Regions from separate parts of the Homo sapiens genome. Here region 1 is linked to region 2. The links are contacts of gene promoters, found by promoter capture Hi-C in blood cells and fetal thymus (Javierre and others, 2016). All regions are on one chromosome and are shown on one strand. The core of a region is centred on a gene start or on the middle of the fragment in contact, and the rest is flanking DNA. Distances in the headings are between cores, read along the strand shown. Region 1 overlaps PHKA2 (phosphorylase kinase regulatory subunit alpha 2). Region 2 holds the start of PDHA1 (pyruvate dehydrogenase E1 subunit alpha 1).

Evidence for each region. The method cuts DNA at HindIII sites, captures the fragments that hold promoters and counts their contacts. A CHiCAGO score of 5 or more calls a contact.
Region 1: a contact is called between a fragment that was not itself captured here and the fragment with the promoter of PDHA1 in region 2, in 4 of 17 cell types (M0 macrophages, megakaryocytes, M2 macrophages and 1 more). The highest score is 5.6, in M0 macrophages.

Annotation. Positions count from the first base shown.
Region 1 is chrX:18,912,387-18,916,774 of GRCh38, forward strand. The region is part of intron 19 of PHKA2 (phosphorylase kinase regulatory subunit alpha 2); the gene reads right to left. It also overlaps the pseudogene RN7SL48P. Among named protein-coding and RNA genes, the nearest start is that of PHKA2-AS1, 24 kb to the left of the region's middle. The HindIII fragment of the contact is 2,996 bases long and covers 1,344-4,339 here.
Region 2 is chrX:19,340,852-19,345,244 of GRCh38, forward strand. PDHA1 (pyruvate dehydrogenase E1 subunit alpha 1) reads left to right here and starts at 3,076. Exons shown (of 11, transcript NM_000284.4): 1 at 3,076-3,243. The coding sequence starts at 3,187. The HindIII fragment of the contact is 3,035 bases long and covers 2,027-4,393 here.

The DNA.
Region 1 (4,388 bases), core at 1,592-4,091, 430 kb before region 2:
CCTGTATCCATGTTCCTGTACTGAATACTGTAGGTAACTGTAACACAATAGTATTTGTGTGTCTAAACATAGAAAAGGTATGGTAGAAAGATGGTATAGGCCAGGCATGGTGGCTCATGCCTGTAATCCCAGCACTTTGGGAGGCTGAGGTGAGAGGATTTCTTGAGCTCAGGAGTTCAAGACTGGCCTGGGCAACATAGTGAGACCTCATCCCTACTAAAATTAAAAAAAAAAAAAAATGGTAGGCCAGGCGTGGTGGCTCACACCTGTAATCCCAGCACTTTGGCAGGCTGAGGCGGAAGGATCACCTGAGGTCGGGAGTTCAAGATCAGCCTGACAACATGGCGAAACCCCATCTCTACTAAAAATACAAAATTAGCCAGGTGTGGTGGCACATGCCTGTAATCCCAGCTACTCCGGAGGCTGAGGCGGGAGAATCGCTTGAACCTGGGAGGCGAAGATTATGGTGAGCTGAGATCATGCCATTGCACTCCAGCCTCGGCAACAAGAATGAAACTGTCTCAAAAAACAAAACAAAAACAATGAGCCGGGTGTGATGGTGCATGCCTGTAGTCCCAGCTACTGGAGGGCTGAGGCAGAAGGATCGCTTGAGCTCAGGAGACTGAGGCTGCAGTAAGCCCTGATCGTGGCACTGCACTTCAGCCTGGGTGACAGAGCAAGACCCTGTCAAAAAAAAAAAAAAAAAGAGAAATATGGTATATAAGATGAAAAATGGTTCACCTCTATAGGGCCCTTGCCATGAATGGAGCTTGCAGGACTGGAAGTTGCTCTGGGTGACTGGGTGAGTGGTGAGTGAATGTGAAGGCCTAGGACATGACTGTACACTGCTGTAGACTTCATAAATACTCTACATTCACACTGCACTGAATTCATCACACAGTGTTCTTTAATATTAAATGACCTTAGCTTACTGTAACTTTATAAACTTAAATTTTTAAAAATCTGACTTTTGTAATAACAGCTTAAAACACAGATCGTACAGCTGTACAAAAATATTTTCTTTCTTTTTTTTTTTTGAGATGGAGTCTCGCCTTGTTGCCCAGGCTGGACTGCAGTGGTGCGATCTCGGCTCACTGCAACCTCCACCTCCCTGGTTCAAGCGACTCTCCCACCTCAGCCTCCCGAGTAGCTGGGATTACAGGTGTGTGCCTCCACGCCCAGCTAATTTTTGTATTTTTAGTAGAGACAGGGTTTCACCATGTTAGCCAGGCTGGTCTTGAACTCCTGACCCACCCACCTGGGCCTCCTAAAGTGCTGGGATTACAGGCATGAGCCACCACAGCCGGCCCACAAAAATATTTTCTTTACGTCCTTATTCTATAAGCTTTGATCTATTTTTTAGTTTTATTTATTTTACTTTTTAAACTTTTTTTAAAAAATGAAAACACAAACACACACATTAGGCCTATGCAGGGCCAGGATCATCCATCACTGCTTCCACCTCCACAGCTTGTCCCACTGGAAGGTCTTCAGGGGCAGTAATGTACATGGAGCTGTCATCTCCTAAGATAACAATGCTTTCTCCTGTAATCCCTCTTGAAGAACTGGTCTGCGGCTGTTTCACAGTTAACGTTTTTTAATAAGTAAAAGGAGTACACTCTAAATACGCAAACCAGCAACATACTTATGTATTATCAAGTATTATGTACTATACATAATTGTATGTGCTAGACCTGTACACGACTGGCAGCGCAGGAGGTTTACTGATACTGGCATCGCCACAAACATGTGAGCAGTGCATGGTGCTACAAAGTCACTACAGCTACGATGTCACTAGGTGACAGAAAGGTTTCAGCTCCATTATAATCTTAGGGGACCACCGCCATATATGCGGTCTGCCATTGACCAAAAAGTTATGTGGTGCATAACTGTATATATTTTTTTTTAAAAGACAAATCCTTGAGAATGAAGAAAAACAAGAAAGAAGACGACAGGAACAGAATTTCAGAAGCGGGAAAGCTGACAGATGAAAGATAAGTGATTTAGCTGACACAAGGCAACCAATTCCCAAGTCTGCAGTGGAGAAATCCGAGAGCTGGTCAGTTACACCCAAGGCTCATCAGAAGTCCCTGGGGCCTGCTGCACTATGTGCTTCTGGAACTGGGGCCTAGAAGGGGTGTCCAAAACAAGGAAGGCTGGGGAGAAGCTATCTGAGAAGCAGTGAGCTCCCTGGACATCCGCTTCAACTACACCCAGCTTGATGACCACCTCACTCACTCTGACAGAAGACTGGAGGGTCTCTCAGAAGAGGGTAAAGGAGGAAGGGGCTCGAAGAGAGAGGGGCTGCTGATTAGCACATCTGAAGGCGTAGATACATTCCTTAAGGGAATTATAAGTAACTATATAGCTCCAGGCAACCAGGCCCTAATCCTTGAAATAGGAAATCCACTAGGAGATTGTAGAGTATCTCTGGGAAATCAAATAACTCCGAGTCAACAAGCCCCACCCATGGGCTTGGAGATTCTCATGCATGACCAGGTAAGCGAGGAGGAGCAGGGCATTTGAAGGAGGACGCTCATGTGGAAGACAGAAACCTAAGCAAACCGGAAAAGGTGACTTGGGGGAATGGAAACCATTCAAAGAGTAAAAAGGGTATATACAAACCAAAACAAAAAGCCCTGCCATTAATATTCTTAGAATAATAACAAATTGCCAGGTATGGTGGCTCATGCCTGTAATCCCAGCACTTTGGGAAGCCACGGCAGGCAGATCGTTTGAGGTCAGGAGTTTGAGACCAGCCTGGGCAACATGGTGAAACCCTGTCTCCACAGAAATAAAAATAAAAATTAGCTGGGTGTGGTGGCATGCACCTGTGGTCCCAGCTACTTGGGAGGTTGAGGTAGGGGGATCGCTTGGGCCTGGGAGGTGAAGGCTGCAGTGAGCCATGATCATGCCACTGCACTTCAGCCTGGGTGACAGAGCAGGACCTTTTCTTTCTCTCTTTCAGAAAAAGAAATTATACTGTATTTTTACTATTTTTTTGAGACAGGGTCTCGCTCTGTCACCCAGGCTGGAGTGCAGTGGCATGATCATGGCTCACTGCAGCCTCAACCTCCCGGACTCATGCGATCCTCCCACCTCAGCCTCCCAAGTACCTGGGATCACAGACATGCACCACCACGCCTGGCTAATCTTTTTTTTTTTTTTTTTTGTACAGACAGTGTCTTGCTACGTTGCCCAGGCTGGTCCAGAATTCTTGGGTTCAAGGAATCCGCCTGTCTTGGCCTCCCAATGTGCTGGGATTATAGGCATCAGCCACTGCGTCTGGCCAAGAAATTATATTGTAAACGTGAAACAAAAACAGACACAATTTGGGGAACAAAGATTTAAAACATGATAGCAAAAGTGGCTAAATTGAGGGGATGGAACAAAAAGTTGAGACAATGGCTTTCAGGACAAGACAGAAAAATGGAAAACAGAGGGAAAAAAATGATAAAGTCTTCTCTAGGAAGTCAACTTTGGAATCATAGGAACACCAGAAAGAAAGAACAGAGAAAATGTTGGGCAGGAAATGAGTCAAGAAACTTTTTAGGAAAACTTTACAGGACTGAAAAACAAATTTCCAGATTGGAAAGGCCCAGTGTGTATCCAACACAATGGATGAAAACACACCCAGATAGAGATTAAGGTGCAGCACTGAGATGTCAGAAGCCGGGAGCAGAGAAGATCCTAAACACTTTCAAAGAGAAAAACAGCTCATATTTGAAGTATCAAAAATCAGAATGAGCCGGGCACGGTGGCTCACGCCTGTAATCCCAGCACTTTGGGAGGCCCAAGAGGGCAGATTGCCTGAGGTCAGAAGTTCAAGACCAGCCTGGCCAACACGGTGAAACCCTGTCTCTACTAAAAATACAAAAATTAGCCGGATGTGATGGTGGGTGCCTGTAATCCCCGCTACTTGGGAGGCTGAGGCAGGAGAATCGCTTGAACCCAGGAGGCTCGCTTGAACCCAGGAGGCGGAGGTTGCAGTGAGCTGAGATCGAGCCACTGCACTCTGGCCTGGGCGACAGAGTGATACTCTTGTCTCAAACAATCAGAATGGGTTTAATTTCTGATATGGTTTGAATGTCTCACTCAAATCTCATGTTGAAATGTAATCCCCAGTGTTGGAGGTGGGGCCTGGTGGGAGGTGTTTGGATCATGGGGGTGGGTCCCTCATGAATGGCTTGGGCCATCCCCTTGGTGATAAGTGAGCTCTCACTCTGAGTTCACAAGGGATATGAGATCTGGTTGTTCAAAAGTGTGTGACCACTCTCTCTTGTTCCTACTGTCGCCATGTGAAGTGTCTGCTCCCCTTTTGTCTTCCGTCATGACTGGAAGCTTCCTGAGGCCTCCCTAGAAGCCAAGTAGATGCCAGCATCATGCTT
Region 2 (4,393 bases), core at 1,826-4,325:
ATAGCCTATAGTTAATGACTATAACATTACTATAACGTTACTATAGCCTATAGTTAATGACTATTAACCACAATCATCACCTGTCACCACTTGACACAGCATCTCACAGTGTCCCTCACCTTCAAAGTTGCTTCCAACTCTGCTTTCAAATATCTGAAAACAGCTGGGCGCGGTGGCTCACACCTGTAATCCCAGCACTTTGGGAGGCCAAGGTGGGCAGATCACCTGAGGTCAGGAGTTTGAGACCAGCCTGGCCAACATGGTGAAACCCCGTCTCTACTAAAAAAATACAAAATTAGTCGGGCATGGTGGTGCTCGCCCGTTTTCCCAGCTACTCGGGAGGCTGAATGAGGAGTATCACTTGAACCTGGGAGTCAGATGTTGCAGTGAGCCAAGATGTCACCACTGTACTCCATCCTGGGCAACAGAGTGAGAATCTGTCTCAAAAAAAAAAAAAAAAAAAAGAGGCCGGGCGCAGTGTCTCATGCCTATAATCCCAGCACTTTGGGAGGCTGAGACGGGCGGATCACGAGGTCAGGAGATCAAGACCATACTGTCTAACATGGTGAAACCCTGTCTCTACGAAAAATACAAAAAAAATTAACCGGGCGTGGTGGCGGGCACCTGTAGTCCCAGCTACTCGGGAGGCTGAGGCAGGAGAATGGCGTGAACCTGGGAGGCGGAGCTTGCAGTGAGTTGAAATTGCACCACTACACTCCAGCCTGGGCGACAGAGCGAGACTCTGTCTCAAAAAAATAAATAAATAAAATATATATATATACACGTATGTGTGTATATATATGTATATATATGAAGAACAAGAAGTGCAGAGAAAATATCCTAGTCATTGAAAAATTGGTTACTTTGTTTCTGCACTGCAAAGTTACTTTAAACTTTGTAATGAATCTAGTGGAGAGATCATTTGAGATGAGGCAAATGTCCTGTTTCTCATCATACATTTACCCACTAATTTTAGCCTGTATTGATGATAATTCTCACCTGCAACAGTTACTGTGGTCTTTGCCAAATGGTGATTTTCTTTTTCTATTTTCATCATTCCTTCTATATTAATTAATTGGAATTCTACTGTAAGGAAAAGTTGTTCCTTCTAACCCATTGATTTGTTCAATCATGTATTTAAGTAGGACCTATATTTTACTTGTTCCTTGCTATATCTTCAGTGTGTAGTACAGTGTCTGACACAAAATCGGTGCTCAATAATAGGTGTTGGATGAATGAGCAAATGAATGAATGAATTCATATTCATATGGCCTACAGAGTTCCCGTACATGCACAACCAATATCACCACCCCGTGGAGATGACTCCCAAATTAATATTTTTAGCAAATGTTCCAGACTTACAACTCCAACTTCCCGGGGGACATCTTCAGATAGCTGTGCCACTGCCACCACCAGGTCAACATGTCCCAAACCATTCAGACCAGCTTTTTCTCCTGAGCTGGACATCTGGCCTCCAACCTTTTCATTCTCTTTTACCTTTCATATTCTATCAGCAGCAGCAGCTGCTGAAATCATACCATGCAAGTTTCTCACGTCCATCTCTGCCTTTTAATGGCGCCCTCTCACTCCTTTAAGAAGTTTTCTTCCACTGCAACACGATCTCTCAGTCCAGAGTCTGGCCCAGTGCCCAAATTATTTCTCTAGCTATGCTGAGAGCTGGTCATGCTTTGAACTTCTGCTTTGAATACTTTCAGTGACACTGGGAGAGAATTATCTCATTGGACCATTGTCATTGTTAGAAAATTCATTGTTATGCTGAAATGAAATGATTTTATTCACACACACACACACACACACACAAAATAGCTCTTCCTCCTGGAACATGACTGGCCTGAAAATGTGTGAAGACATATCCAATCCTCTCTGGTTTTACTGTTCATCCAATTTTCTGTTCTCCTCCTGGCAGGAGGATTATATTTCACCTTGTGGAACTCAGACATGGTCGGGTAACTAGCTCTGGTCCGTGAAAATTGAGAGGAAGTGACATGTGTCACTTCTGGGCAGAAGCTTTGAGAGCCGGTTTAAATGATCCCTTTTCTCTTCATCCATGAGACAAGCTAAGTTCCAGAGAGAGGGTGCCACGCTGTGAGGGACCTGTGTTACGAGTACGATGGCTCGCGTCACTTCAAATTCTTGAAATCACTGAAATTTGGAGGTCAGTTGTTACATCATAACCCAGCCAATTCTAGTTAGCCTGTTTTCTTCCTAACTTCTTTAATCGTTCTTCATAAGTCACAATCGCAGCCCCTCACCGTTCTGACCACTGTCCCCTGGATTCCACTCAGTTTACTCATTATCCCCCTTAAAATGTGGAGCCCAAATCTGAACCCGGAACCCCAGGTGCAATCCCACTAGGACACAACACAATGGGTTCCTGAGCCCTTTGATCCTCTGAATAGAGCCCCTTGTTGCTTTGGTGTTTTGTCTCTGTGTGTGCTTTTATCATCGGCTGAGCCACGCTGTTAACTCGCAGTGAGCCTGTGAACCAATAACTAGAGAAAAAAGATTTTTCCCATTGTCCTCTCGACATATATTGGGAAACAAATTTTTTGATCCGCGTTCAAGTAGACAGGGCAGAACTGTCCAACTGCTACGTGATCTTTTAAAGACAAAGTTAGTGGCAGACCATTTACAGAAACCAGATGTTCTGTCTTTTGGCTCTGAGCATGCTGCTAATCTTCATCATCTAGTGTACTGAACGAGATGTACTGAACGAGGGCTGCAGAGCTGCAGCACCGGCAGGAGTAGGCGCTCGGTAGGACGGGGCCTGCACAACCTCCCCGGTAGTCAGCAGAGCGGAATCTAGGAAGGCTCCTTTCCCGCGGCGCCCTGGAGGCGGGGGCCCCACCTTCCCACGCAGGCGCTATCAAGCCCCGCCTCCTCACCCGCCCGCGGCGTGGCGTCGGAAAGAGCCCTCAGCCCCTCCCTCTCTGGCGCTGATACCCAATGGGCAGCCTCAGGCCTTTAGCGGGGGCGGGGCACCCCCTGGACGCCGTTCTGGTTGGCCCGCGGCCCGGCGCAGCGCATGACGTTATTACGACTCTGTCACGCCGCGGTGCGACTGAGGCGTGGCGTCTGCTGGGGCACCTGAAGGAGACTTGGGGGCACCCGCGTCGTGCCTCCTGGGTTGTGAGGAGTCGCCGCTGCCGCCACTGCCTGTGCTTCATGAGGAAGATGCTCGCCGCCGTCTCCCGCGTGCTGTCTGGCGCTTCTCAGAAGCCGGTGAGACCTCCCGGGCGGGCCGGGATGGGGCGCGAGTGGGGCTGAGGCGGGGCCGGAGGGCAGGGCGGGCCAGGCCGGGCCACCCAGAGCGGGGTGGAAGGCGCCAGGGGAGCCGGGGAGCCTTTACTTCGCCTCCGCGCCCTGCATTCCGTTCCTGGCCTCGGGAGAAGCGGCACGGACCGGGATCACGCCAAGGTCCGTGTGAACTTCCCCCTTCTCGACACCCACCTCCCGCCCCCGGGCCCAGCTGTGCGCCAGGCGAAGTCGGTGTGCTCAAGAGGTGCCTGTTGGGTTACAGGACACGGAAAGGGTGGCCTCGGCCTCCTTCGAGTCTCCAATTGACCCCACTCATTTCGGATCTTCTAACTTAATTTCTCTTGACCGAGAGGCTTTGTAATAGCGTAGAATCTGGAGACAGGGTGGCTTCGTTCAAACAGCACCCTCACCATTGACTAGCCCTGTGACCTTGAGCAAGTTTTTAAACGTCCCGGGGACCCGGTTTCCTAAAATGTTTGCTCGAAGTGGAGTTAATCTCTAAATGGAGATAAGAGTTATCTCTGAAATGTTATCAGTTAACTCTAAAATGGAGATAATAAGAGTCCCCACCTCTTGGGGTTGTCTTGAGGATTCAACGAGTGACACGTGTGGAAACGATTCCAAATAGCACCTGGCACATAATCGATAACATGTGTGTTGAATAGTGTTATTTATTGAGTCTCCAGTTCGGTATACATTTCTTGAACACCTGTGCTCAGTTCTGAGGCGGGTTCACAGAAGGTCAGCCTCTTCAGAAACAAACTTCCTCCTCTTCCCTCTCCCTCAACATCTGAGCTTTTCTTGGCAGTGAGTTCAGGAGCGCCGAAGCAGAACTCAGAGGACGCTGCCCTCCCCTCCCCTTACCTACACATTCTTAGGGTACAAGTAGCTAAAGCAAAGAGCAACGATGCTTGAGGGGTGGGGGGTAGAGTTTAGCACTATTTCATGGCCTCAGCATTTAGAGGTGCCTAACACCTGAGCTAGCATTCTGACCCCCCTAGGCACAGTGAGGTCGTGTTAATTGGTGTAACTGCAGGCCTCGGGATTCTGGTATTTCCCCCAGGACTTGATACCGCTCTACTTAGTACAGGCAGAGATTGTCAAAAGGTAAGAG